2 separate regions of the Homo sapiens genome follow, and region 1 is linked to region 2. Evidence: promoter capture Hi-C in 16 types of primary human blood cells and fetal thymus (Javierre and others, 2016). All regions are on one chromosome and are shown on one strand. Each heading gives the region's core, a stretch centred on a gene start or on the middle of the fragment in contact. The rest is flanking DNA. Distances are from core to core; before and after follow the strand shown.

Region 1 (7,460 bases), core at 2,140-4,639, 270 kb before region 2:
GGTTTTAGTTACTCATTTCTTCCTCTCTTTTTGATGCAGAGAGGCAGATATCTTTATAACTGAATTTTTTTATAGATGTGAATTTTTTTAAAAAAGGGTTTGAAAATGGCCACCTTAATGTTGTAAGCTGTATTTTGGAGGCAGATTTAGTTTAATAGGTGGTCTTTTTAACTTAGTTATTATTTTTTAGCTAAAATTATTGAGCTTAAGGTGGAGCTCATTAAAGAATAGGGCAAAGAAAATATTTTCTACGTCTGGACTCAGTATGGACAGCTCCGAAAAATAAGTATGCCTGTTCTACCTGAGGGTCTATCTTTTATAAATATTTTATCTAGAATAGCCTTTTAAAAAGCCTTTATAGAAGGATAGTAATTAAGCCAAAAGGCTAGCAGATTTAAGTTTCTAAATTAATTAGTCAATTAAGATTTTAATTTGTTTTTTATAGTCTTTTGAAAGAGGCAATAAAAATATTGAAAAAATTTTAGAAGCTTCTACACATTAGTAAACATTTTTGGATCAGTCTAATTTAAGAACCCTTATTTTTAAATGTATTTTTTAATGTGTAGTATTGTTTATTTGGAATATTGCATTCTAATTTTACATTATTTTTAGTAAGATTTTGTCTTTTTTGTAAGTGTTTCTGGTTTTGGGGGGTCTAATGCTTATATATGTGTGGGTAGTTGTAGATGGAAGGGGGGTGTTTTGTTTTTTAGAATTTAAAGATCTCATTTTACATTGAATTTTGGCTTTGGCTCTCAGATCACCTTTATTAACTTAGCCAGTGATTTTTCTCTACCTCACCATGCAAGAAAAAAATAGGGGTGGGAAATAGAACACAAACACCCCCGTGAAAGCCCCCCCACCCCAATTTTATTATTCACTGCCAGTTTCTGTCTGGCCCAGTTGGACATCTGAGGCTTCTACATGGATCTAAGCCAGTTAATTATCAGATCTATCCCATCCTGGACTCAGTCCAGTTTTTATTGGGACTTTTCAGCCCAGTTTGAATAAAAAATTTGTTCAAACTCAAAGAGCTGAAAACACAAATCCATGGAACCTCAGAACCTGAGAGAGAACTTACCCATGATTCCTAGCTTCTGTGAGAAGGCAGTGAGCACAGTGGGTCTGCTGAGTACCTCACTTGGTCGCTCAATGCTCCTGGGGGTCACTGGAAGTTAACTTTCAAGTCTCACTTCTGACACCATTTGTTAGACAAATTAAATTTAACAGAGTTTAATTGAATAATGAATGATTCACAAGTCAGGCAGCACACCCCTTGTTACCCCCTCTTCCAGCCCCACCCAACTAATTAGAATAGGTTTGGGAGACTCTGGCAGTGCTGTGTGGTTGGAAAGGATTTATGGACCGAAAGAGGAAAGTAATGTGCAGAAAATGGAAGTAGGGTATGGAAACAGCTAGATTGGTTACAGCTTGGTGTTTGCCTTATTTGAATGTGGTTTAAATAGTTGGCGACCTGTGAATGATTGAAGTCTGGCTTCTATCATTGGCTGAGACTTGGCTCCTTGTTACAAGAGCACGTTACACCTGTTTACACATGCAGTTAGGTTACAGTTCACTATATATGGAGAAATGTTAGGCTGAATTTAAAATATATAAGGAGGCAGCTTTAGGCTAACCAAATTTAACAGTAGACAGCAAACACTGAAGGCCAAGTCTCTTGACTTACATTCCAATTTCTTTCTACTACAACCCAACAGTCTCTGAGACTCTACATTAATAGCAGTCTGGCCTTCAAGTTATTAGAGCATTAAATGTCAGAAGCATGCTGTCCTAAACATGGAAAATCTATGAGCTTCCCTTTTACCTGTAACTATAATCCCATTGCACACAAAAGCTGCTGCATTTGATAGGTGAGAAAAGGTGTAGAAACTGTGGATGTACCTGTAGGACTCAGCTCCTGTAGGGAAGCTGTCTCTGGCCCTCTAAGGCTGAATTAGGGACATTGCCTATGTGGAATGAAGTGCCCCAAGCTCGCCCTTGTTGCAGAATTTACGTCACTGCTTACTTATTCTCCCCCCTTCTAGAATGTGAGTTTCTGAGGACACAGTCTGGCTTGTTTATGATTTATTCTTAGAGCACTTAGTGTTCAATAAAGAGGCATCAAAAAGATTCAAAAATAGGACATCAAGAAACCTGTGATATAATACTGTATAAGATTTTTCTCATACATGCTGGCCTTTTAAGAATAATGTCTGGCTCTTAGACAGTGTTTACTGTGGCCTGGGCATTGTTCTAAACTCTTTCCTGATGGAAGCCTGTGGCTAGTGTGCATTAACTATCAGGTGGGCACGATCACCACCCCTGTGGCCTAGAGAGCTCAGCAGTTGACCCAGTGTGGCCGAGCTGGCTGGTGACGAAGTCAGGGTGTGAACAGGCTGGCTCTCGCATCAAAGCTCTTGGACTCCTACCAGAAGGCAATACCTGATCAAGTGAATCCACACAGTAGCTGCTTGTGTTTTCACACCTGAGAAAAAGCATTTCCACTATGTTAGCACCAGTACTTTGTCCAAGTGAGGACAGAGTGGGGCTAAGATTACGCTTGGGGACTCTTAGCTGTCATCAGTGGATTGTGTGTGGGGTGTGTGTGTGTGTGTGCGAGGGGTGACGCCAAGTTTTGGTGACCAGTATCTCCCAATAACCCTCTCTCATGACCATGTTTGGTGGATCTCCAGAGCCCTCAACTGATAGTTAAAGATATTAGAAATAACTTCTTCTCAGATTCAAATAAATAAAATCAGAAATGAAAAAGGAGATGTCATGACTGATACCATGGGAATACAAAGGATCATTAGACACTATTATAAACAACTATACTCCAGTAAATTTGAAAACCTATTAGAAATGGATAAATTCAGCCAGGCACAGTGGCTCATGCCTGTAATCCCAGCACTTTGGGAGGCCGAGGCAGGCAGATCACGAGGTCAGGAGATCAAGACCGTCCTGGCTAACACGGTGAAACCCCATCTCTACTAAAAACATACAAAAAAATTAGCCGGGCGTGGTGGCAGGTGCCTGTAGTCCCAGCTACTCAGGAGGCTGAGGCAGAAGAATGGCGTGAACCCGGGAGGTGGAGCTTGCAGTGAGCTGAGATCACGCCACTGCACCCCAGCCTAGCCTCGGCGACAGAGTGAGACTCTGTCTCATAAAAAAAAAAAAAAATGGATAAATCCTTGGATACATACAACCTACCAAGACTGAACTAAGAATAAATAGAAAACCTCAGCAGACCAATAACCAGTAACAAAGTTGAATCAATAACAAAAAGTCTCTCAACAAAGAAAATCCCAGGACCAAACAGCTTCACTGCTGAATTCCACCAAATGTTTAAAGAACTAATACCAATTCTTCTCAAACTCTTCCAAAAAATTGAAAGAGTTAGAATTCTTCCAGACTCATTCTACAAAGCCGGTATAACCCTGATCCCCAAACCAAATAAGACCACAGCAAAAAATGAAAACTTAAGGTAGGGGGCAATAAAGCCTTGGACTCTGATGTTCTCTCTGAACCCCAGCTACAAGGAAATGCACTTTAAACATTTAAATCCACCAAGGTAAAGAGCTTGGCTTTGATACTGGGCAAAGTTCCTAGGGCAATGATTAAGTATGGACTCCACAATCATTGGGAGAAAATGGGAATTTTGCCCCAATAAGTCATCACCCAGATGCCCACCCTCCCTTCTTTCCCCTCTCCCCATCCTCTGTCCCTCTATCTTCCTCTAGGAGAGGGGTAGGTTGCCACGACAACACCAGAGTTAATGGCCCCATTTGGCCAGCCTTAAAGCCCAGCTCATTCTGGCCCAGGGACATCTCATTGGGAAAGAGATTCTGGATGTTTGACAAATGCTCAATTTGGCTAATAGAACCTGTGTATTTACTTGGTGCAAATTAAACAAGTCTGGATGTACAAGTTTCATTGTCCAAAGGGAGAAGGAGAGATGATTAGAGGAAGGTAGGAGGAGGGGAAGAAAGAAGGGGAATTCCAGTGGCCAGAAAAGTTTCCGATGCCTGATTTGTCCTGTGTCAGGGTCTGCCTTCATCACGTTACCAGGAGCTGGCTGTAGGAAAGAAAAAACAATCCCGAGACGACGAGACTCAAATCAAATAGGCCTGATGACAAGAGTCTCAATGGCACAGAGGTCCATTTCTATCCATCCTTATTGGAATCATACTAAGTGAGTCTCACAAGCAGGCTCCCAACAGGCTGACTGTGAGTTTCTCTACCAAATGAGACTGTGACCGGGGCCCAGGCTGTGCCAGCGTCCAGAGGGCTAGTGCTGTGGACTTATTCACACGTGCACTTCTTGACACTGATGTGTAAGCCAGGCCTGCTGTCACACTGGAGTTCCAGATGCTAGCAAACCAAGAGAAAACCTAAATCAAATAATTCCATGCAGTGATTAGTGCCGTAAGAAGGTCCTATAATTAGAGTGGCTTTGTGGCTGAGCAGAGGGGCCGGAGAGGAAGTTGGGGAGGAATGCTAGCTGGGCTGCTCCGGGGTCCTCTCTGAAGAGGGGACACTGGAGCAGAGCTCTGAATGGGGGGCTGTCTGTGCAGCCTCCAGTGGGCTTGGAGGCCTGATGGGCTTCAGCAGTGAGGGGCTGATGGGGAGCAGGAAGAGACTGGCAAGAGGCTTTTCCTTAGGTGCCGAGACTGACAATGAAGCAAGGCCTCTGGGGCCTGGACAGAGAACACAGCCTCAGATGGGCTCAGGGCTGGTAGAAGTACAAGAGAGGGAACATGGGCAGAGTTGTGTCCTGTGGATGACATCACTACAGGCCAGGTGGACACTGGGGACGGGGGCAGCTGAGAATGGGTGTTCTCAGGGACACAGGCACTGATGACTCACCCTTGCCCCTTTAACCCAAGGTTGCCAACCCTGTCTCCATCCACACCCATCAAGACTGTGGGACCAGGGCTATGGATGTCCGCTTGTGGGCTCAGGCTGCCTCCTGGAACCAGATATAGAATGGCCTCCGAGTGGGACCGCCCATGGAGAACAAGGGGAAGCGAGGTCGGGCACACACGTTTCAGAGGTTTCTAGCTTTCAGCCTACATGCCTTGTGCAAGTCTGTGTCATGTGACAGAAAGAGTTAGAAGCCCTGGGTTCAAATCTCACCTGTGCCACTTACTAAGTGAACAACTGAATGAGTAGTTTCTCCTAACTGATCCATTTGTAAAATCTGGATAAGAGAAGTAACACCAGGATCGCAGTGTGGTTCTGAATATCAACAAAGGGAGGCAATGCAAACGACAATGAGTGGTCAGGAGCAAAGAACTATGCAATGTGAAGCATTAATTACACTCAGGTTCACAGAAGACAGGAACCCCCGAAAGAAATGCATCTAAATTAATTTAGTTTCTGTAGGTGTGGACAAGGCAAGGGAAATAACTGACTTCTGATTCATCTTACCACAGAAGAGCTGGAATAGCTCCTCTTGATTCCGCAAATGACCCTTTCCCAGGGGAGCTGCACTCCCTGAGAGTCTGCATGGGCCTCTGTCACATTATATAGGGATTTGCAATGGCAGGAGAGTGGCCCTGTGGTTTTCCCTCAAAAGGAGTTGTATGGAACACACTCAGTGTCTGCCATGCTTTCTATGGGAGAAAGTGGTTCTTCCTTGTGATAACTCCGCTCCACAAGTCTACCCACCACTCCCTCTGAGGGATGCTGCCTGGATTCCCTTTCCCAGTGCTTGCTCGCTCCTGGTTCCAAGTCTTCCACTGCTTGTTTGGAGCTGAATGGTGCCTCTGACCCCCCATTCATGTGATAAAGTTCTAACCCCTCATACCTCAGGATGTGGCTGTTTTGGAGCTAGGGCCTTTGAAGAGCTAATTAAGTTAAAATGAGGTCCATGGGTGAGCCCTAATCAGATAGGACTGGCGACCTTACTAGACAGAGACACACACAGAGGAAAGACCATGGGAGGACACAGGGAGGAGACGGCCATCTGCAAGCCAAGGAGCCCTCAGGAGAAACCAGCTCTGCCAACGCCTTGATCTCCAACCTCAGCCTCCAGAATTGAGAAGTACTTTTCTGTTGCTTAAGCTGCGCGGGATGTGGCGCCGTTACATCAGCCTCAGCAGGCTAGCCCACCATGCTGTTTCTCGCCTGGCCTGCATTGTGGTACTGCGTCCAGAGTTGGTTCCTGACGGTGGGTTCCTGGTCTCGCTGACTTCAAGACTGAAGCTGCTTCTCGGTGAGTGTTACAGCTCTTAAAGATGGCACGGACCCATAGTAGTAGTAAATTTTATTGTGAAGACCAAAAGAACAAAGCTTCTACAGCCTGGAAGGGTACCCCACTGGGTTGCTGCTGCTGGCTGGTGGGTGGCCAGCTTTTATTCCTTTATTTGTCCCTGCCCATGTTCCATTTCTGCCCTGTCAGAGTGCCCGTTTTTCAATCCTTCCTGCGATTGGTTACTTTTAGGATCCTGCTGATTGGTGCGTTTTACAGAGCACTGATTGTTGCATTTTACAGAGCACTGATTGGTGCATTTTACAGAGTGTTGATTGGTGCATTTTACAACCCCCTTGCTAGCTACAGAGTGCTGATTGGTGCATTTTACAATCCTCTTGTAAGACAGAAAAGTTTTCCAAGCCCCACTCGACCCAGGAAGTCCAGCTGGCTTCACACCTCTCAGTACCACTGAGGCTGTAGTCTCAGAGAGAGGAGACAAGGGGGAACGCACTTGTTGGTAAAAGCCACAGTGTGAATCCTGCTGAAATCCTACCTGGAAGCCCAGTGTGGCTCAGGATAAGTTACTGAACTTCTCAGTAGAGAGGGAGCCTGTCATGGCTCAATAGTGCCCCACAAAGAAATATGTCTGTCTCCTAACCCCTGGGACCCGTGACCTTATCTGGAAGTAGGGTCTTTGCAGGTGTAATTAAGTTCAGGATCTTGGAATGAGATGATTGTAGATTTAGGGTGTCCTTCTGAGAGAAAAGGGAGGGGATAAGACATCAACGCAGAGAGAGAAGGCCACGTGGAGACAGAAGCAGAGATTAGAGTGAGGCGACAACAAGCCAGGCTTGCTCAAGGACTGCCAAGGATGCCAGAAGCCACCAGAAGCAGGAGCAGACTCCCTCGGAGCCACCAGAACGAAGCAGCCTGCCACACCTTGGCTCTGGACTTCTGTCCTGCAGAACTAGCAGAGAATACATTGGGGTTGTTTTAAGCCATCTAGTTTGTGGTAACTTCTTACGGCAGCCCCAGGAAACATGCAGACTTCACTCTTTGTGTGGCTGTCCCAGAGCCTGCTGCCCTGGATGGGAGGCTGTGATGTGAAGCTCAAGCTCTTGGCTCCAGAGCCAGACCCAGGCCCTGATCCTGCCCCCTGGCCCAGCCCTGAGACCTCTGAACCGTGTCCTGTCTGTTTCCAGTTTAGTAACACCTGCCTCACAGGTTGCTGTGAGGCCTGGATGGCATGTGGTAGGTACTAAAT
Region 2 (7,492 bases), core at 593-3,092:
TTTACATCGTTTCCAACTGCCCAACATTCGTGAAGAAGTCAAATTCTTGGTTTAAAATGAAAATTTGATTGGCCCTTGGCAAACATTCAAATCTTACAAATCATAGTCTGCTACCCAAGCCTAGCAACTGGGATGAGAGAACGATCAGGTACAAAGTCAGGCTCAGAAAGATGTGGCAGAGCAAGACTAACACAAAATAATGCCTGCGCTCATAGGCATCGTTTTCATGATCTTCTTTTTGCCCACACAGGTATTCTTTCATCTTCAAGATTTGCAAACAGGAGCACATTAATCTTCACAACATCCGTGTGAGCTGAGCAGCTGGTACATCTTATGATCCTCTGTATTAATGATGGAAAGATGATAATGATGGTGATAAAAATTAAGACACATCAAACAGCGTCAGCACTATCACATCAAAACACCCATGGATTTCTCAGGTTAAAAAAAAAAAAAGAAAAGTGGAAACTGTCAAATGTATTCTCATCTATTTTACTATTATACCGTTGCTAAGATCCAACTACTTTTGAAAGTCTAACACATAAGGAGTTGAATTATTGCATTGTTCAAAGGGGCAGAGAATTCTCTTGGGAAATCAGGCATTTATTTTAATCTTTTTTTTAAATGAAAAACACTAACGGTTGCGTCAAGAAATGTTCTCTAGACTCCACTGGGTCTCCTGTCTGCTCTTTATCCTAGTGTGGAGAAGAGGTGACATTAACCTTAGGAGGGGGAAAACTGCTGGAAGAGGGGAAGGGCTCAAGCAGGCCCTTGGCAGAGGAGGGACCTTCCAGGTAAATCAGATGGCCACTGCCTTGTACCCGCATTGGAGAACGAAGGACCCCAGGGGAAACTCTTCCTGCCTTTGGGTCTCAAACGCCCATGTAGTCCCCCCTCCCCCACAAGACCGCGAACACAAATAAAATCAGCTTTGATTGTGGTGATTCAATTTGCTCTGGAAGAGAAGAGGACTCGGCGAAGGGGCCTAAGTGCACGTTCTTAGACTGACAGGGAGCGTTTCTCGGAGATTTCTCCCGTTTCAACAAGTCATTTGCCTAGTGGAAGGGGGAGGAAAAAGTGAACGGGCTCCTGCCTCCTACACCGTGCCCTTCCCAGGTTGGGGCCTATGACAAGGTTCTCCGTGCTCCCCAGAGGAGCCAGGCACTGGGCCGGGGTAGGCGATTTGTAGTGAAGACCTGCACCGCACCCACGAGGGGGCCCAGCACTGACGCATCCTCACCCCCAGCAACCCTCCAGGACTCTCTCTTTGGTCTCCCCTCTCTCCCATGGCTGCGCGCTGGCACACACCCCGGCTCAGCAGGCCGCTTTGCTTGGATCCCACGCCAGGCCTCCAGCCTCGCCGCCCGCACCCCCTTTGAACACCTTTCCCCAGGGGAGTGGGCGGAGGCGGAAGGGTGACCCGCGCATTCTCTTTCCTTGCGGGCGGGGTGCGGGGCCAAAGGCTCCCACCCCCTCCAAGGAGGAAGCGCGCCCGGAATGGGGGACGGGGAGGAGAGAAAGGGGTGCGCAGAGCCAGAGGGAGGCAGAGGGGCCTGGAGGGAGGAGAGGAGGAGGGGAGGATGGAAGGGGTAGGAAGCTGGAAGAGGAGGGGTAGGCGAGAGAGGGGAAGGAGGGAAGCGGGAGGGGAGCGGGGGGAGGAGGGGCGCCCGGAGTGGGAGGAGGGGAGGCGTTGCCCGACGCGCCCTTTCAAGTCTCCGCGCTCCCCCCCGGCGGCGGCTGCCCGGGGGCGGTGGCTCGGCGTCGCCTCCCCCGACCGCCCCCTCCAGGGCCCCTCCTCCGTGCCGCGGCCAGGCTGCCCGGCCGGCGGCGCGCTGGAAATATGAAGAGACGCTGCAGCTGCGGTGGCGGTGGCGGCCACTGCAGCTCAGAGCGGCGCACGCGGCGGCCGGGGCGGGACGCGGGGCCGGGCGCGGAGAAGTCGGGGCGGGCGGCAGAGAGGCCGGGACGCGGACCGGGCCGGGGCGCCCACAGCCGCCCGACGGCGCCCAGAGAGCGCGCGCCCCGCAGCCCCGCGCCTAGCCCGCCGGGCATGGGGCGCGCGGCAGCCGCCTGAAGCCCCGGCCTGGCCCGGCCGCACCCGGCCGGAGGCGGAGGGCAGAGCGCGCGCCCAGTTGCCCGGGCACCAAATCGGAGCGCGGCGTGCGGGAGGCCCCAGAGCAGGACTGGAAATGTCCTGGCCGCGCCGCCTCCTGCTCAGATACCTGTTCCCGGCCCTCCTGCTTCACGGTGAGTTCCCGAGGGCCACTCGAGCGCTCCCAGCCGGCGGAGGCAGCCCGGGCGCCGCGGAGCCCGCGGAGGCGTCGGGTCTGGATCGCGGCACGGCCTACACTGTCCCCTTGGCGGGGCGGGTCCGAGGGGAGCCCCGCGCCTGCCGTCTCAGCCCTGGGAGAGGGGGCTCTGCCCACTTTCCGAGGCTTGGGACCGCTCTCCCCCAGGGCGCCCGGAGCTCTTTGCTGCGGGACTGTTCTTTTTGGAAGGGTGGAAGCTCTCCCACGCAGACACCTTTTATGTCCAGAATCCGTTGCATCCAGTCCGAGGGAAACTTTCGTCCGCTCTGCTGGATTTTCCAACTGTACACTGCCATGAAATCGCCGGCTCTGCGAGCCTTTTTCCAAAATGCCAGAATGCAGCAGGCTCTTGATGTGTTCCAAGCGTTTAGGAGAGTGGAAAGAGAAACTGATCATTTGGGAAAGACACGTCTGTCTGCCTTCTGAAAACTAGTGTTTGTTGTCTGCCTGCACTTTGCCTCGCGATTGAGGCGGGGTTGTGGGGTTTTCTCCCAAGTGGACTGTTGCGTTCTCTGGGTGTAATTTTAAGAAACAGGGGACCCCTATTAGCCAAGATTTAATCATTATTACCAGTCTCCCAATGTGCACCCCAACTTGACGTCCCATTTCCTGGGCTTCCAGTGCCACTTTTCCCCAGGGGTTCTAGTAAACCTTTAGCTAGAGAACATCAGCCCTTTCAGCGGGTTCCAGAAATTGCGCTGAAAACACCAAGACAGAATTTCTTTGGGGTGGACAAGGCAGGTTTTATGGCGCGTCGGGTTCATAATCCTGACAAGCCGTGGCAGATCACGTCGTGTTGATGTGGATGTCCTGAGCAAACTGTCCCTAATGGTCAGACACCTGACGTTTCAACAGCATGACTTCACGGCTCTCCTTCCTCAACACCCACCACAGCCACCCCAAACCTGTAGCGGGCTCCGGCTTCAGAATGCATGGTAGCCAGGACTGAAAGTCAGGCTGAGGACCTTCCCTCCGGAGGATCAAGGAAAGGGAAGAATTGTTAACCCACAAGCCACCGGGATGCTGTTTTCTTTGTAGTCCTGCCCCAGGTGGATGGCTCGCATAGCTCCACAGGCTTTGTGAACTTGTCTGGCTGGGCCAGACCTGTCCAGTTGCCAAGGTGTACTCAGAGCCCCAGTGATCCCAGAATTTTAACAGTCGGGATGGAAGGCTTGCAGAGGGCAAAAAGAGAGAAGGTATAATTATAGGGTTGGACTCCTAGGCCCATCTGCTTAGAATTACAGAGCAGTTTTAATCTTTGGCTGAAACATGAAACAAATCAGAGCCAATGAACAGATCAAACAGCAGCTGCCACACACACAAGAAACAAAAGAGAGAGATGAAACAGGAAACATTGTCCCCCTTAAAAAAATTGTTGTAATATCTGTGAAGAAAAAAGATAGTATGGTCAAATGATTTTAAAATTTAAAAAATTACTTAAAAAGTTGGCATGAACAGCATTTTTTGGGGTAAAATCATTGCCTTTTAAACTACAAAAGTGATCCTCAGAGATGCAACCTTGTACACAAGGTAACTCTGAACATGTTCTCCCTATTTTGAGAGGTAGGGGTTGTAATTATACTTCCTATTTAGCAGTCCAAGCTGGGGTAGTAATGGCTGACAGGTAACAAGAGCCCAAGTATATCCTCAATGAAGACAGGAGCTCCAAATCTCCTGAGTTTGAGAATTTGAGTCTGGAATCTTCCATAACTCCGGGGATCTGAGGGAGGAGGGCTCCCCAGACCCCATGGTGTTGGGAGGGGGATTGGGGAGCAAGGAAATAACTGGGAAGGGCAGTCTGAGCTATAAATGGGAGCACAGTGGAGACAGACCGTGTGCGTGCTGGTATGTGTGTATGCATTTGTGTGTACACATATGTGCATATGTATATATGAAGATAAGATAAAAAGGGAGGTTTGCAAAGTTGAGTTGGGTTACATGGATAAACCGATAAAAAGTTATCCAATTTCAGAAAGAATCTGCAATGGCACAATTATTAAAACTAATGTTGCTCAAAGGTCTACTTAGATCCAGCAGAGAGTATCAGACTCTAGTGCAGAAAATAAACAGAGGAAATCATTGTTCAAGTTATAAATCCTCAGGATTTAAGAAAGGTTTGCCATAATTAGCAAGGATAATGTAAAGCACCAGAAAAGAATGGGATATTCTTCCTTTCCCCTTTCCCCCATGACATCTACTTGATTGAAGTACTTTTAACAGCAAATGGGTATTACTCAACCTAACCAAGGGAATGGTTTGCTGAATATGTCGTACTCAACTGATAGGCGCTTTGCAGGCATTTAAGAATTCTGTAGTAACAGATGGAGTGTGATCATATATTTAAATAGAAGTTATAAATCTGAAGGCAATTCTTGAAATCTTCTAAGGAATTAGTGATTTTTTTTCCTGATAAATAGGCATTTTATTTTGCTAACCATAGGATACCATTTGTCTATTTATGGGTCAACTTAGTAGATAAAAGCATTTGTTCTATGGTGTTGGATGTTCCTGTGATAAACTTTAATAAATTTAGTTTCACACATCATTTAGAGATTTATTTGTTACACCACCAAGTCAGGTTAAGAAGTGCAAGAAGTGCATCCTGTGTGAGGATGCAGTAGATAACCATTATGTTTGGCATCCAGTCTTTGTTCGGTTTTGTGGCTACTTCTATTTCAATTCATTGCAACTTATAAATCACCCCTAAATCCTATCAGTGAGTAAATGAGGCTCTGGCAAGACTTGAGCCTGTTGTTTATTTAAGACTGCAAATGTGGTGCGAGACCCAAGTTCAAAATTTGATGGCATAAAAGTATACATGTCAGTTTTACTTTCCTCCTCTTCAAATTCTGAAAACAATTGCAGTACTTAATCCAAATAAAGCCTATTTAATGTCATGAAGGTATGCAGCTGGAAGATGTCCATTATCACTGTTTTCTTTGCTTAGATAAAAGCCACAAAAGTTTCAGATGTCAAATTCTAGAAACCATTCAGCTCCAAAACACAGATTAGCATGAGGTATCCAGAATAAGTGTGACTGTAATGCCGCAGTGGAGTGCCTGATTCTCTTTGCTAATGGAAACATTTGATTTTGAGTTTTGGAGCTGATGTTGGGAGAGATGTTCTATTCCCACACCCTGTTTACTTTTGTAGAATTCGTTGACTTTTCTGAGAGGTGAAGGCTCTTTCAGCTCTCTCCTTTCATTAAAGCTTATTCTGTCAAGACTTTTAAAAACTTTGCAGATTACCAAATGAGAGTTTAACCGACATAATGTGAGGAAACGTTTATACAGGGTAAAATAGAAATCTTTGAAAAACTATTTTACTAAGGACAGTTTTTGTGACCAAGAAAACATTCTTTCCTGCACTTTTTTCCCTCCTCTTAGTCATAAAAAGAAAATGAAGTCTTGAAAAGAAGCATGACTCACCTGTACCCAACAGGGGCAAGGGTCTCAGACAGATGTTAAATATCCTCTGTTAAAGAGATTGACAAGCCAATTTCATTCTTTTATACTAGCTGAGTTCATTCTTTTTCCCCTTAAATGAGAAAAGAACTAAATATAGGTGGGTGATATGTCTGTGTAATTACATACTACTATTTAGGGACAGACTGATGACAATATAATCAATCAAAGGGAGGCATAAAACATTTCAGACCAGAAATAGAAGATGATGTGTTAGTGATTGTCTACATCGGTTGAAAGATACACAGCAAGGCATGTCTTCAGTAGACTCTTCCCCTGGAGTTGAAGTGATCGCAGGGAAAACCAGGAAAAAATCCGCTACCATCCTGGACGTATGAGTTCTTAATGGGTTGGTTTTGTGTACATAGGCCATTGCTTAGTCCTCTCCAGTTTGGGAATAAAATTATTGTGGAAAGTCATGTGATAGGTATGTACATCTCAAGGTTGGAGAAAGGATATGGTATCATCCTAAAATTATTAAGGATATTCTGTTCTGCAAGGGTTTTCCGGTTTCATTCATTCAGCTAACCATTTATTCAGAAAGTTCATCTATGAGGGCCTACTATGTGCCAAGTGCCACCACTTGCCAGGTCCACTGGCCGAAAGGTAGCATTCTCCCTTCCTTGAGGATTCTTGAAGAATATCTAGGTGAGAGAAGGGAAGAAATACTGATTGTAGAGCCCCAGAGCTGAGTGGATGGCACACTGCAGTTGATTGCACTATTTTCCCTGCTGGGAATCCCACAAGCGTGCACACACACACACACACACACACAGACCACAACTGTGTTGAAGAGGGTGGATGTGGCTAGTCAGCTGCAGATCCAACATGCAAACTTTGCAACCTCTGGTTCAGCTCCAGTGTCCACCCTGAGGACTATGGCACTATAAAGTGGCACAGAAAAGTAACTTGTTTTCAACTAAAGTCAAGTGGAGCCAGGAATTTGAAAACTTGACCTTATTATATTGCTCATAAAGAGAGACGACTTTTAGATATGAAGATTTTAAGATGGGCAAAAGCAGCAAGCTTACTGCAAAAAAAATGGTAATAAAAACAAGAACTTGATAAGCAGAAGTACCACAATGGTGGTAAAATTCAGTACAGTCTGCAATACATACATGCTTTTATTTCAAAAAAATGGAAACCTGTGCTGGAGTTTATCTACCAGCACCCACTTCAAAGCACACATTTACAGTAATGACTGCTTATTTAATTGGGCAGGCAATTTCATGGCTAAGTAATTACTTGCACTTAATCTAATCAGTCACATTTTATGTATCACAACAATTCTAACGAGAACACTTTTCTCAGTCTGATTATTAAAGTATACAGGGCACATTATATAAAGTACAGAAACTTGCAAAATGAACAGAAAAGAATCATTTTAAGCTCTCCATAATGGTTGATATTTTGACATTATACTTAGTCCTTTTCAAGTTCAGGTTTTTTCCCTTAAGCCTTAGAGTACATGTATAGAGATTAACCTGATCAAAGATTAGTTTAGCCCCACGTGTGCTTGAAAATTATCGTTTCCTTCCCAAATAATTTTACATTTTATTATGTGTAAAATAGATCAGAACTTTTGATTTCTCAGTCAATATAGATCGGCAGGTGAAAAACCGTGGAATATATTCATCTAGATAATTCAGATTGTTAAAACTTTGTTGAGGACGGGCACGGTGGCTCACGCCTGTAATCCCAGGCCAAGGGCCTCCTTTG

The links. Contacts are between HindIII fragments. The CHiCAGO score rates a contact against its expected background, and 5 or more counts as called.
Region 1: a contact is called between a fragment that was not itself captured here and the fragment with the promoter of APCDD1 in region 2, in 2 of 17 cell types (M1 macrophages and naive B cells). The highest score is 6.2, in M1 macrophages.

What each region holds. Positions count from the first base shown.
Region 1 is chr18:10,185,348-10,192,807 of GRCh38, forward strand. No RefSeq gene overlaps it. Among named protein-coding and RNA genes, the nearest start is that of LINC01254, 230 kb to the right of the region's middle. The HindIII fragment of the contact is 5,806 bases long and covers 487-6,292 here.
Region 2 is chr18:10,452,793-10,460,284 of GRCh38, forward strand. APCDD1 (APC down-regulated 1) reads left to right here and starts at 1,843. Exons shown (of 5, transcript NM_153000.5): 1 at 1,843-2,247. The coding sequence starts at 2,190. The HindIII fragment of the contact is 7,093 bases long and covers 1-5,517 here.